Regions from separate parts of the Homo sapiens genome. Here region 2 is linked to region 1. The links are contacts of gene promoters, found by promoter capture Hi-C in blood cells and fetal thymus (Javierre and others, 2016). All regions are on one chromosome and are shown on one strand. Each heading gives the region's core, a stretch centred on a gene start or on the middle of the fragment in contact. The rest is flanking DNA. Distances are from core to core; before and after follow the strand shown.

Evidence for each region. The method cuts DNA at HindIII sites, captures the fragments that hold promoters and counts their contacts. A CHiCAGO score of 5 or more calls a contact.
Region 2: the fragment with the promoter of JHY here is called in contact with a fragment that was not itself captured in region 1 in 15 of 17 cell types (M2 macrophages, endothelial precursors, naive CD4 T cells and 12 more); the score reaches 11.8 in M2 macrophages.

The regions. Positions count from the first base shown.
Region 1 is chr11:123,023,075-123,029,085 of GRCh38, forward strand. No RefSeq gene overlaps it. Among named protein-coding and RNA genes, the nearest start is that of SNORD14E, 32 kb to the right of the region's middle. The HindIII fragment of the contact is 1,709 bases long and covers 2,799-4,507 here.
Region 2 is chr11:122,879,888-122,885,898 of GRCh38, forward strand. JHY (junctional cadherin complex regulator) reads left to right here and starts at 2,872. Exons shown (of 9, transcript NM_024806.4): 1 at 2,872-3,085; 2 at 5,874-6,011. The coding sequence starts at 5,963. RefSeq lists a silencer at 2,991-3,350. The HindIII fragment of the contact is 12,251 bases long and covers 1-3,951 here.

The DNA of each region.
Region 1 (6,011 bases), core at 2,403-4,902:
AAGGAAGATGGAAGGAGTTCAAGATTCCTAGGCAAAGAAGAGGACAGAGGCTGAAATGTGCTTCCTTTTTTTCATTTTGCTTGGACCTAAATGGCAGGAAATTTCTTAACTAAAATTAAAAAGCAACTAGAATATCTCTTCCCATCTCATGAATACGTTGCTTTCTAAAGTCAACCGAATCCAAGCAGCTGACTTTCAAAATGGGGCCGAAGGAGACTCTAAAGTGCCACCTGGTGGCCATCTTCAGCACAAGCGAAAAGGAAAAGGGATTGCAGTGAGATCTTTGATCCAGGTAGGGCTGATAGCGTAGAAAACTCCCCAGCGACAAAAGTGGTATTAAAAGTAACAAAAAAGGCCGGGCGCGGTGGCTCACGCCTGTAATCCTAACACTTTGGGAGGCCGAGGTGGGCGGATTGCCTGAGCTCAGGAGTTCGGGAACAGCCTGGACAACACGGTGAAACCCCGTCTCTAACAAAATACAAAAAATTAGCTGGGCGTGGCGGCGTGCGCCTGTAGTCCCAGCTACTCGGGAGGCTGAGGCAGGAGAATTGCTTGAACCTGGGAGGCGGAGGTTGCAGTGAGCCGAGATCGCGCCACTGCCCTCCAGCCTGGGCGACAGAGCGAGACACCGTCTCAAAAAAAAAGGAACAAAAAGGCTTTATTTGACCTGCGGCCAAACCAATGGAAACTTCAGTGGAGGTGGGTTAGAGTGAAGTTCAGGACTTTTAAAGCACTTGTGAGAATGTCTTCCCACAGGACTAAGGAAACAGGTGATACAGAAACAGATAAGGACATCCGGTGAAAGGAGTAAGGTAGGAAGAGATGAGGGTTCTAACCCTCCTACAGGCTTGGGAGTACTTAGCCTGGAGATATTTCTCCAAGCCTTCAAGTTGTCTGCAAGACAGTTCCATATATATGGTGTTTTTCAATATATTTTTACAAATACTATTTATGTTTTAAAATATTCATTGAACATGGAGAAACACCATCTCTACTGAAAATACAAAATTAGCTAGGCGTGGTGGTACATGCTTGTAATCCCAGCTACTCGGGAGGCTGAGGCAGGAGAATCGCTTGAACCCATGAGGCGGAGGTTGCGGTGAGCCGAAATCGCGCCATTGCACTCCAGCCTGGGCAACAAGAGCGAAACTCCGTCTCAAAAGAAAAAAAAATGCATTCAATTTATTACAGGTTTATAACATAACCACAATAAAAGAGGTGAGAAAAAAGAATTAAGTAACTTTGGACTGTTATTTAACTATGTACTCTAAACGCAAAGAGCACACAAATTTTACTGTATTTAATAAATTTGTTTTTCACAAGGCTGTAGGTTGGAAATTCTAAAACTGTTTTATGTGTAATCTAGTGTTGAACAAATAAGTAAATACATTGTGAATAATAACCACCGAATTTTTTACTGTCAGAGAAAGGAATTAAAAACAAGAAAGGGAAATAATAGAATGAACCCTGAGAGCTGGAATGGAACTGGAGGTATCAATATAAAATAATAGGTTTTTTTTGTTTTTTGTTTTTTGTTTTTTCTTTTTTCAGACAGAGTCTCTCTTTTGCCCAGGCTAGAGTGTAGTGGTGAGATCTCAGCTCACCACAACCTCCATCTCCCGAGTTCAAGCAATTCTCCTGCCTCAGCCTCCCAAGTAGCTGGGACTACAGGAGTGCGCCAACACGCCCGGCTAATTTTTGTATTTTTAGTAGAGACAGGGTTTCACTATGCTGGCCAGGCTGATCTCAAACTGCTGTCATCGTGATCCGCCCACCGCGGACTCCCAAAGTGCTGGGATTAAAGGCGTGAGCCACTGCACCCGGCAAAGTCATAGTTTTTAATAGAGAGACAGGGAAATAAGTAAAGACATGTTTAAGTGTACACATACGTATATTTCCTAGCCCTGATCACTGAGGGAGGAAACAATGACACCCCAGTAGCAGTAAGCATCTAGTGCCCAGATCTTTTTTTTTTTTTTTTTTTTGAGCCTGAGTCTTGCTCTGTCGCCCAGGCTGGAGTGCAGTGGCGTGATCTCGGCTCACTGCAAGCTCCGCCTCCCGGGTTCACGACATTCTCCTGCCTCAGCCTCTCCAGTAGCTGGGACTACAGGCACCCACCACCACGCCCGGCTAATGTGTGTGTGTGTGTGTGTGTGTGTGTGTGTGTGTGTGTGTGTGTGTGTTTAGTAGAGACGGGATTTCACTGCAGATCTTTCTTTCTAAATATTATTCTCCAGTAAAAAGGAACCCGGTCTACTTAAACAGATAGCTGATTATACGGCTGGGGCAGGGAAGAACAGAATGAACTTAGGACATCTTGTGGAGCTAGTAACTAAGGAAGTGCTCAAAAAATGATGGACACATGTTGAAATGACACAAGCCAACTTGGTAAGACTCCTAGATCTGGGACAATCTGAACAACAAAAATGTTTAAAAGATAATAATGTTCACTCACAGATTAAAAGCAATATTCATGAGCCCATACTTATTTAAATAAAAAATTGAATAAACAAATAAATGAGGAAGAAAGGAAAGTTCTTTCTTACTGTAATACTCCAATTAATAAATGCAGAAGGAGTGATGCAAATAGCAAGTCACCAATGGCAAAGATCACAGTAAAAATTGTTTTTCAAGAACGTATCAGTGGATGCTAAAATTCATGGATGAAATTATTACCAGAAACATGATATTTATTTAGTCTCTAAGTATTTTTCCATGAGATGCCTATTAATTACAGTGAGAAATGTCATAACTTCACAATGTAGAAATGTGGCATATATAGCCTTAACCAAGATTAAAGCTTATTGTGTGCTTCCTGATATGATGCACTGAGAAGGACATGGCATCCCTTATGTGGTATCCTTACCAAAAATGCATAACCTGAATTTAATGTCTGCAAGGAATGCAGACATACCCAAATGGAGGGATGTTCCACAAAATAACTGACAGCTGCTCTTCAAAGGTGTCAAGGTTGGAAAAGATAAAGAAAAACTGAGACATCGTCCCAGCTTAAAACAGGCTAATAAATAAAGGCAATGTGTAATCCTGGTTTGGATCATGGATCATAAAAAGGACAGTATTGAGTCCAGATGCAGTGGCTCACGCCTGTAATCCCAGCACTTTGGGAGGCCGAGGTGGGCGGATCACAAGATTCAGCAGTTCAAGACCAGTGTGGCAACACGGTGAAACCCCATCTCTACTAAAAATACAAAAATTAGCCAGGCATGGTGGCGGGCCCCTGTAATTCCAGCTACTCCGGAGGCTGAGGCAGGAGAATTGCTTGAACCCAGGAGGCGGAGGTTGCAGTGAGCCGAGACCGTGCCATTGCACTCCAGCCTGGGCGACAGAGCAAGACTCTGTCTCAAAAAACAAAAGGACAGTATTGAAACAGATAATGAGAATTAAATGAGATAGCAATGAATTAAGTAGTAATGTTAACTTCCCAATTTTATCTTTGTACTGTTATTATATCATATGTTAACATTTGGAGAAGTTAGGTAAAGAGGATATAGAAATTCTTTGTACTATTTTTGTAAATCTTACATAATTTACAATAAAAAGTTGTAAAAAACTAAGCAAGAATTATGAACCATCCACTGTGTATAAGGCACTTTAACCAGAATATAATTTCTCAAGAAATATGTATCCTGTACGTTAGAGAACTTTTAACATAATATCAATTAATCAGAACATTGTCCTTCTATGAGCTAGAAATCCAATAACTTTCTTCTTGTACATCTCACATATCTCTATCTTAATTAATTAATTAGTTTGTTCATTCTTCTTTTTAATTAAAAAACTATGGGCTAGGCCTCATGCTGGGAACACAATAATGAAAAAGCCAGACATAATTCCTACCTCCCATAAACTAAAAGTCACATGGAGATATAATTAAAGAGTCAATTACAGTGTATAATAAGTGCCAAGATGTGTTAAGCAATTTCAGGCCACAGAACATGGCAGTTAGCACAAATTCTAGAGCCATATTGTCTGGGTTCAAATCCGTGCTCCATCACCAGCTGTGTGACTTTGGGAAAGTTACTTAACCTCTCTATGCCTCAATTTTCTCATCTGTACAATAAGAATAATAATAGTATCTACATCATATGGTTGTTGTGAAAATTAAAGGAGTTAATTTTATAACGTTGCACTTAGAATGGTGCCTGGTGAATCGCTTGAGCTCAGGAGTTTGAGACCAGCGTGGACAACATGGTAAAACCATGTCTCTACAGTAAAATAAAAAAAAAAAAATTAGCTGAGCATGGTGGCATGCACTATAGTCCCAGCTACCTGGGAGGCTAAGGCTGGGGGACCAATTGAGCCTGAGAAGTCAAGGCTGCAGTGAGCCACGATAACATCACTGCACTCCAGCCTGGGTGGCAGAGCGAGACCCTGTCTCAAACAAAAAAAGGTGCCTGGCACGCAGTAAGTCTAGGAAATGAATGGGCACACACCTGTTGCGGGGGCAGGGCTCTACTGTGTGAAGACGGGGAGTATTTAAGAAAAAAGCTTCCAGAACAAGTGGCATGTGAGCTGAGACCCAAAAGGCAGAACAATCAGGCTTTGCAAAAGCCTGGAATTGAGACAGGGCAAAGAGATTTGCAAAACTGAAAGAGTTCGTGGCCCAAGTGATGAGTGGTGAGAAATGAAGTCAGAGATTAGTAGGGACCAGATCATACAGGGCCTTTTCAGTGGAGTGAAAGAGCCTGGACTTCACCTTTAAGGCTGTGGAAGCCGTGGTGAGATGGAGGCAGGAGGAGCATCTCAATGGCCCTTCAGAAAGATTTCTAAGGCAGCAAAGTGGAGATTTATAGAGGAGATTCACAGCAGGCCACACTGGAGCCAGAAGAGGCGGGAGGCTTTTGTGGTGATCCAAAGAGGAGATGGTAACGTGCTGGACAAAGAGAAGTGGACAGATTGGAAAGATCCTTAGAAGGTTGAATCCTTTTGCTTTCCACTAAGATATGAGCACTATGAGAAGAGAATTTTTCAACAGCTTTATTGAGATGTTAGGCACGTACCATACAATTCACCCCTTTAAAATGTACAGTTGAATAGCGTTTAGTATATCCACAGCTGAGCATCCATTGCCAAAATAGATTTTAGAACATTTCTGTCAACCAGGCAAAATCCCATATCCATTAGTAGTCACTCCATATTTCTCCCCAAACTCCCTCCCCCAAGCCCTAGGCAACCACCTGTCTGCTTTCTATTTCTATAGATTTGCCTATAGACATTTCATAGAAATAGAATCATACAATATGGTCTTTTGTGACTGGCTTCTTTCACTTGGCATAATGTTTTCAAGGTTCTTCTATGTTGCAACATGTATCAGTACTTCATTACTTTATGGCTGACTAATATACCGTTATATGGATATGCCACATTTTATTTATCCATTCAATAGTTGGACATTTGGAGCGTTGATACTTTTTGGCTATTATGAAGAACACTGCTATGAACATTCATGTATGCATTTTTGTGTGGATGTGTGTTTTCATTTCTCTTGGTACATACCTGGGAGTGGAATTTCTAGGTCATATGGTAACGCTATGTTTAACTTTTTGAGGAATCGCAAAGCGACTGCACTATTTTACATTCCTACCAACAGTGTATGAGGAGTTCAAATGTTTAATATCTTTGCTAACACTTATTATTAGTAGTCTTTTTTACTGTAGCCATCTTGATTGGTGTGTAATGGTACTTCATTGTTGTTTTGGGTTGCAATTCCCTTATGGCCAATGATATTAAACATCTTTTCATATGCTTGTTTTGAAGCCTGCCACCTGGGTTCAAGCGATTCCCCTGCCTCAGCCTCCTGAGTAGCTGGGACTACAGGCACCCACCACCACACCTGGCTTATTTTTGTATTTTTAGTAGAGACGGGGGTTTCACCATGTTGGCCAGGCTGGTCTCAAACTCCTGACCTCAGGTGATCCACCCGCCTCAGCCTCCCAAAGTGCTGGGATTACAGGTGTGAGCCACCACGCCCATCCTCTGATGACTATTAT
Region 2 (6,011 bases), core at 1,622-4,121, 140 kb before region 1:
CTCTGGTCGTGATGCTGGGGCAACCCCTACAAACCTCATTTTTCTTTGCCAGCCGGCTCCTTGTATTACTCTGCCAGGAGGGGACAGTAGAGGGAGACCCCAAGCCTGGAGACTGGAAAAGGGACTGCTCCTTCCTTTTCCTCTCGAGGTCACCTTGACAACGTCTCTTCACTCCAGCAGCTCAGTTGGTTTCAGCAGCAGTAGCTGATTCCAGTTTTCCCAGCACTCTCAGAACCAGCTTCATGATTCCTTTTCAAAGACACCAGCACCCACTAGCTTGGGATTTCACCCTCCTGAGAGGCCTGGGTCCCAGCTCTGAGTGTTAATAATTTCAGTGTTAATACTTCTAAGTGTGAATAATTCTTTCCTGTGATTCCCCAGCCACAGAGGTGGAAGCTGCTTCCTGTACTTACTACCTCTATGACACTTGTGTTCCCTTTTCAACTTTTCAGTTAATAAATCTTCATATTAAATTATTTCCATTATACTAACTGGCATGGTTTCTGTCTTCTCACTGACCCTGACTACCACTCGTGTTGATTATTCCACCCTTTAGTCACTCCAGATACTCAGGACAGCCATTACAAGGGGAGAAGGAGGAAGATCAAGCCCAGAGTGTCCCACGCTCTATGTGTGACTAGTCTCTGCAAGTAGCTGCTGGATTGACAGACTCCTGAATCACGTAGGGACCACTAATTTTCAGAAAAGCCAGTTAAAATCTCTTCTGGATAGTGCAGAAAACACTGGAAGAGTCTAAAGAACCACAGCATCAAAAGTAGACAAGTGTGAATGACTCAGCATTGATTCTATAACATATTCTGGAAGCCACTATTAGGACTAAATCCTTTTGCTTGAAATTTGCTTGCATGTTTGCAGTTGCTATAATAATACCTTGTATAATATACTGGGCAGAATAACACTAATGGTTTCAGCTACGTTGCTTTTATTTCTTCTACAGACATTGAGGTCCTACTGTGTACTCATAAGACAAGGTCCCTGCTGCCAAAAAAGTAAAAAAAAAAAAAAAAAAAAAAAAACTAACTCAAATAAAAAACAGAATAAAAAGTGCTAAAGCTGGGTAGTAAAGACATTTTCCAATTTCCTGTGTTTCCTATCATTAATGAGGCAACTGGTATTGAAGCATTCTTTTTTTATTTTATTTTATTTTTTTGAGATGGAGTCTCGCTCTGTCACCCAGGCTGGATTGCAGTGGCACATCTCAGCTCACTGCAACCTCTGCCTCCCCGGTTCAAGCAGTTCTCCTGCCTCAGCCTCCCATGTAGCTGGGACTACAGGCGTGCACCACCACGCCCAGCTGATTTTTGTATTTTTAGTAGAGACGGGGTTTTGCCATGTTGGCCAGGCTGGTCTTGAACTCCTGACCTCAGGTGATCCACTCGCCTAGGCCTCCGAAAGTGCTGGGATTACAGGCATGAGCCACTGTGCCTGGCCGAAGAATTCTCTTTTTTTTTTTTTTTTTTTTTTGACAAGGTCTCACTCTCACCCAGGCTGGAGTGCAGTGGCACAATATTGGCTGACTTCAGCCTCAACCTCCTGGGCTCAGGTGATCCTCCCACCTCAGCCTTCCAAGTAGCTCGGACTATAGGCACGCGCCACTACGCTCAACTAATTGTTAAAAATTTTCGTAGAGACAAGGTTTTGCCATTTTCCCCAGGCTGGTCTTGAACTCTTGGGCTCAAGCAATCCTCCAGCTCGGTTTCCCAAAATGCTGGGATTACAGGGTGAGCCACTGCACCTGGCCTCAAACCAATCTTTGAAGGTAGTTATTCAAATCTACTTGTTGTTTTAATGTGAAGATAATTCCTAATGCTTCCTTTCTTTATTCTTTTTTGAAACCTTTTTTGATAGTGAAATATTCTACCCATACATAAATGTACAGCTTAATGAATTTTTACAAGATGAACATCTATATAACCATCATTAAGGTCAGGAAATACAGTCTCAAAAACATTCTTCTCCCTACCTGCCAGAACCGACCACAATCCTAACTTGATGGGAATCACTAAGTGGGTAGTGTTTCCCATAAAATTGCTTTTTTGCTTTTTTTCATAGTTTCCTCCACTAAGTATGGAGCCACAATCACTGTAGAGTGTAATTTAGCCTGTTTTTTATATACAAAAATCATACAGTATGTACTTTTTCTGGGTTTTTGTTGTTGTTCAAAATTGTGTTTTTAGTATGCCTCCATATTGTTACACATAGTTGTATTTCATTCATTTACAGTGCTATGTAGTATGCCAGTATAGGCAATAGCATAATCTAATTAACCATTCTTTTGATGGATAGTTCAGTTATTTCCAGTTTGCATGCACAGGAGCACGCACTTCTTAGGGTAAATACCTAAAAGTGAAATTGCTGGATCCCAAGGCATACATATCCTGGCTAATGTCAAACCATTTTCCAAAATGGTTGGTTGCATCGGTTCTCACGTCCGCCCGCAGAAGGTGACGGTTCTTTGCACTACGTCCTCCCTAGCACCTGACGCTGCCAGACGTTTCAACTTTGGACTTTTCGACTCAACTTATGGTGAGTGTGGTATTATCCGCTGTGGTTTTAATTGGCCTTCTTCTGATTATTAATGAATTAAAGCATCATTTCAATAAACAGATATTTATTGGCCATTTAGATTTCTCGTGTGTTTGTGAAATACCTTTCCATTTACCCATTATTTAATTGGGTTCCTTTTCTTCTTGATTTGTAGCAGTTCCTCGCGTATTTTAGTAGTTTTATTTGTGGCAAAGATCTCCTCCCCCGGGTGGCCTCTGCCCTCCGGCGCTGGGAAGTCCGGGCGGCGAGGCAGCCTCTCCCGGGGCGTTCGGGCTCCTCCGGCTCTGCCCCGATGTCGTTATTACGGCCGTTTGCAGCCTCCGTGCCAGGGCCGGGGGTGCGGTTCGGGACGCGGGATCCTAGGTCGGGTCCTGCCCCGCCCATGTGGCGCCGGCGTCTGTGTTGTCTGCGGTCTCCAGGGCAGCGCCGGGGCGGGCGGGGGCCCGGGCGGCGGCGGCGGCGGCGCGGGAGGATGCGGGGCCCGTCCGGGTCGCGGCCGCGGAGGAGCGCCGGGCAGGTGACGGGCGGTGGCCTCCCGGATCTGGGGTGGGCGGCGCGCCCGGGGAGGGAAACGGGAAGGGCTTACTGGGGATGGGGACGGCAGGAAACCACCCAAGCAAGCTGGGGAGGAGCCGGCGCGGGAGCCTTCGGGACGGAGTGGGGAGCGACAAGGGGGCGAGGCCGCGACAAGGGGCTGGGGGGCCGCCATGCGAGGCTTCGGCGCCCGGGCACCCAGAGCAGCCCTGTTCCCGGTCAATTAGGACCGGTCCCGGGCACCAGGCCCGCCGACTTGTCACTTCCTGGACCTCCAAACGCCCCTTGTGACAGGCCTTGTTCCTCAGGAACAAGCAAAGGTAGAAAACCGAACGCCTCCCCTGGGCAGCTTCCGGCCTGTTTCAAACCAGGGTTCGTTCCTTTTTCTTTACGATTCATCTTGGTGAGCCCAAGCAGGGTTCCTTTTCCCCTCCAGGAGAAAGTTCGATTGTCCCATGCTAGTGGACTAGACCCACTGCAGGGATCCCTGGGGAGCTGGCCGCTTCTTAGTCCCTAGGTGCCATCGGATCTATCGCTGTCTTGTTTATTCAGGAGACTAGTCACCTCTCTTGGTCAGAAATTTCAGCGGCACAACCTTTTTTTTTTTTCACTGGACGGGAGGAGGGAGCCACATTCATGAAATTTAAACGCCCACTTTCTAACTTATTCAAGCTGTCAGCTGTTCCTTCTTCCACCCCATGTTTTGGTAAGATCAGGCCTCCACAGAAAACCCAGCTTTTGTGGCGTTTGGCTTTGCTCTTTGCATACTTTAGCAAACTTCAGGAATCTGCTAACATCAGCAAAATTATCTTCTGTGGTTACTGTTTTATTTTTTATTCATTCCAAGAAAGCTTAGCCTATTTCATTTAAGAAGAGAAGTTCAAGGGACTGAATTATTTTAAGAGTAATTCTAAGTTGCACTATAACGCTTAAGCTTGCTCTTCAGGATCTCAAATTCAGTGACCTTAGCTCCTCCAGTAAAACCGGTGTTAAACAATCTCTTTTACTTAAAATGTGTTAGTATTTGATAGATTTGCTGCTTTCTTGGCACATCCTAAAAAAGCAACAATTAAAATAATAAGGCAGAATGCAATATGTATTTTAAAAATAAGAGACAAAATAATACAACAAACCAGTCTGTAATATTAGAGAATAATATGTTAGTCTACCAACAGGGCAGACTTCGAGTTCAATAGAAAACTCACTTCGTGTGTATTTACATATGAACGTTCCCTTTTGCCTGTTGTTTGTTAAGGTGCTTTCCTCCAAGGATTTGATGATGCTCCTTGCAAACATTAGCAACAAGGTCAACATTATAAGCAATCCTAGGAATAGTAATAAGGTTGTGTCATTTAATTAAAGTTAGGATTTGCCAAAAGAACAAGAGCAAGCCATTAAGACAAATTTTACAGCAATTTCTAATGGTAAAGGTTTCTGTTACCTGACTCACAGAAAAAAAAAAAATGGGTATAAAGGCAGTGAGATAGAAAATAGACCAAAATAGAAATGCTAGGTAGAGATGAAAGGAAGCACAATCCAAAAACATCATGTCCGTTCGGTCCTACATGAACTCAAAGCACCCTTTCCATGGCTCTTTATAATGACCCTTACAGACAGTGCAGGTTCACTTGAATCACACTCGTAAGTGAGTTGGAAGGGACTCCAGCTAACTCTTAGCTGTAATTCAGGCCAATCTCCCACCCACTCAACTTTCCCCAGGATAGCATCCCGTTCGGTAATGTAGACCTCCAGGCTCTGCTTTGGATCGCTCAGTGGCAGAATTCACAAGACCACTAAATCTTTTGTTGAACAGTTTTATTTATTTTTTCTGATAGGGTCACGTTCTGTTACCCAGGCTGGAGTGCAGTGGCACTCCAGCTCACTGCAGCCTCTGCCTGCCCGGCTCGAGTGACCCTCCTCCCACCGCAGTCTCCCGAGTAGCTGGGACTACAGGCCCATCCCACCATGCCCACTAATTTTTTGTATTTTTTTTTTTTTTTTGTAGAGATGGGGTTTTGCCATGTTGCCCGGGGTGGTCTTGAACTCCTGGACTTAAGCGATCTGCCCACCTTGGCCTCCCAAAGTGCTGGTATTACAGGCGTGATTGTTGAACAGTTTTAATCGTTATTATGGGTTTTAAAAAATACCGGATGAGGTTGATCTCCATTTATGTCCACCTAAATTATATGTTCCTATCTAGTCACAACCTGGCTATCAGAAAGTCTTTTCCAAATGATGTTGCCAGCCCATATAGGTCTAGGAACAAAACAGCTTCCCCATTTACAGTTCCAACTATGGAAAACTACACTCTTCTTTCTTCTTACTTTACTTTCCAAAACATAGCCCCTGAACCTGTTTTACTCTATCCATGAATAACTACGGACCATATTTATATTGCCCATAGTTATTTGGGCATTTGAAATAAGGCTATCAAAGTACTGTCCATAATTAACCATTTGTCTTAGTCCAGGCTTGTCTGTAACAAGCCCTTGGAAGCTAGAAATAGGAATCCACTTCCAAGCAGCCATTTATTTCATCAATAAAACTGCATTCGATTACTCAGGCTGCTTATGAGCGCTACATCAGATGTGTTTCTGCAGAGAGAAAAACAATTGTTTTTCTAATAGACCTTTCTTATACACACAAAAGGGTGCATACAAAAGCCTGCAGATAATATAACAAGGTTCTCTTACTCATTTAAATATTTGATTAACGTTGACAGTATTGAGATTTTAGTGGTCGCAGAGTAACATAAATATATTTTTTTTCAGGTAACGCTTTTGTGAACCACAACTTTAAATATCAGCCAGCTGCTCCTATCAACACGAGTATCCCCTGTTAATTTTTTGCATTTTTCAAGATGAGTAAACGTAAACTAATTCCCAAGCTCTCTATTCAATCTCCTGTCC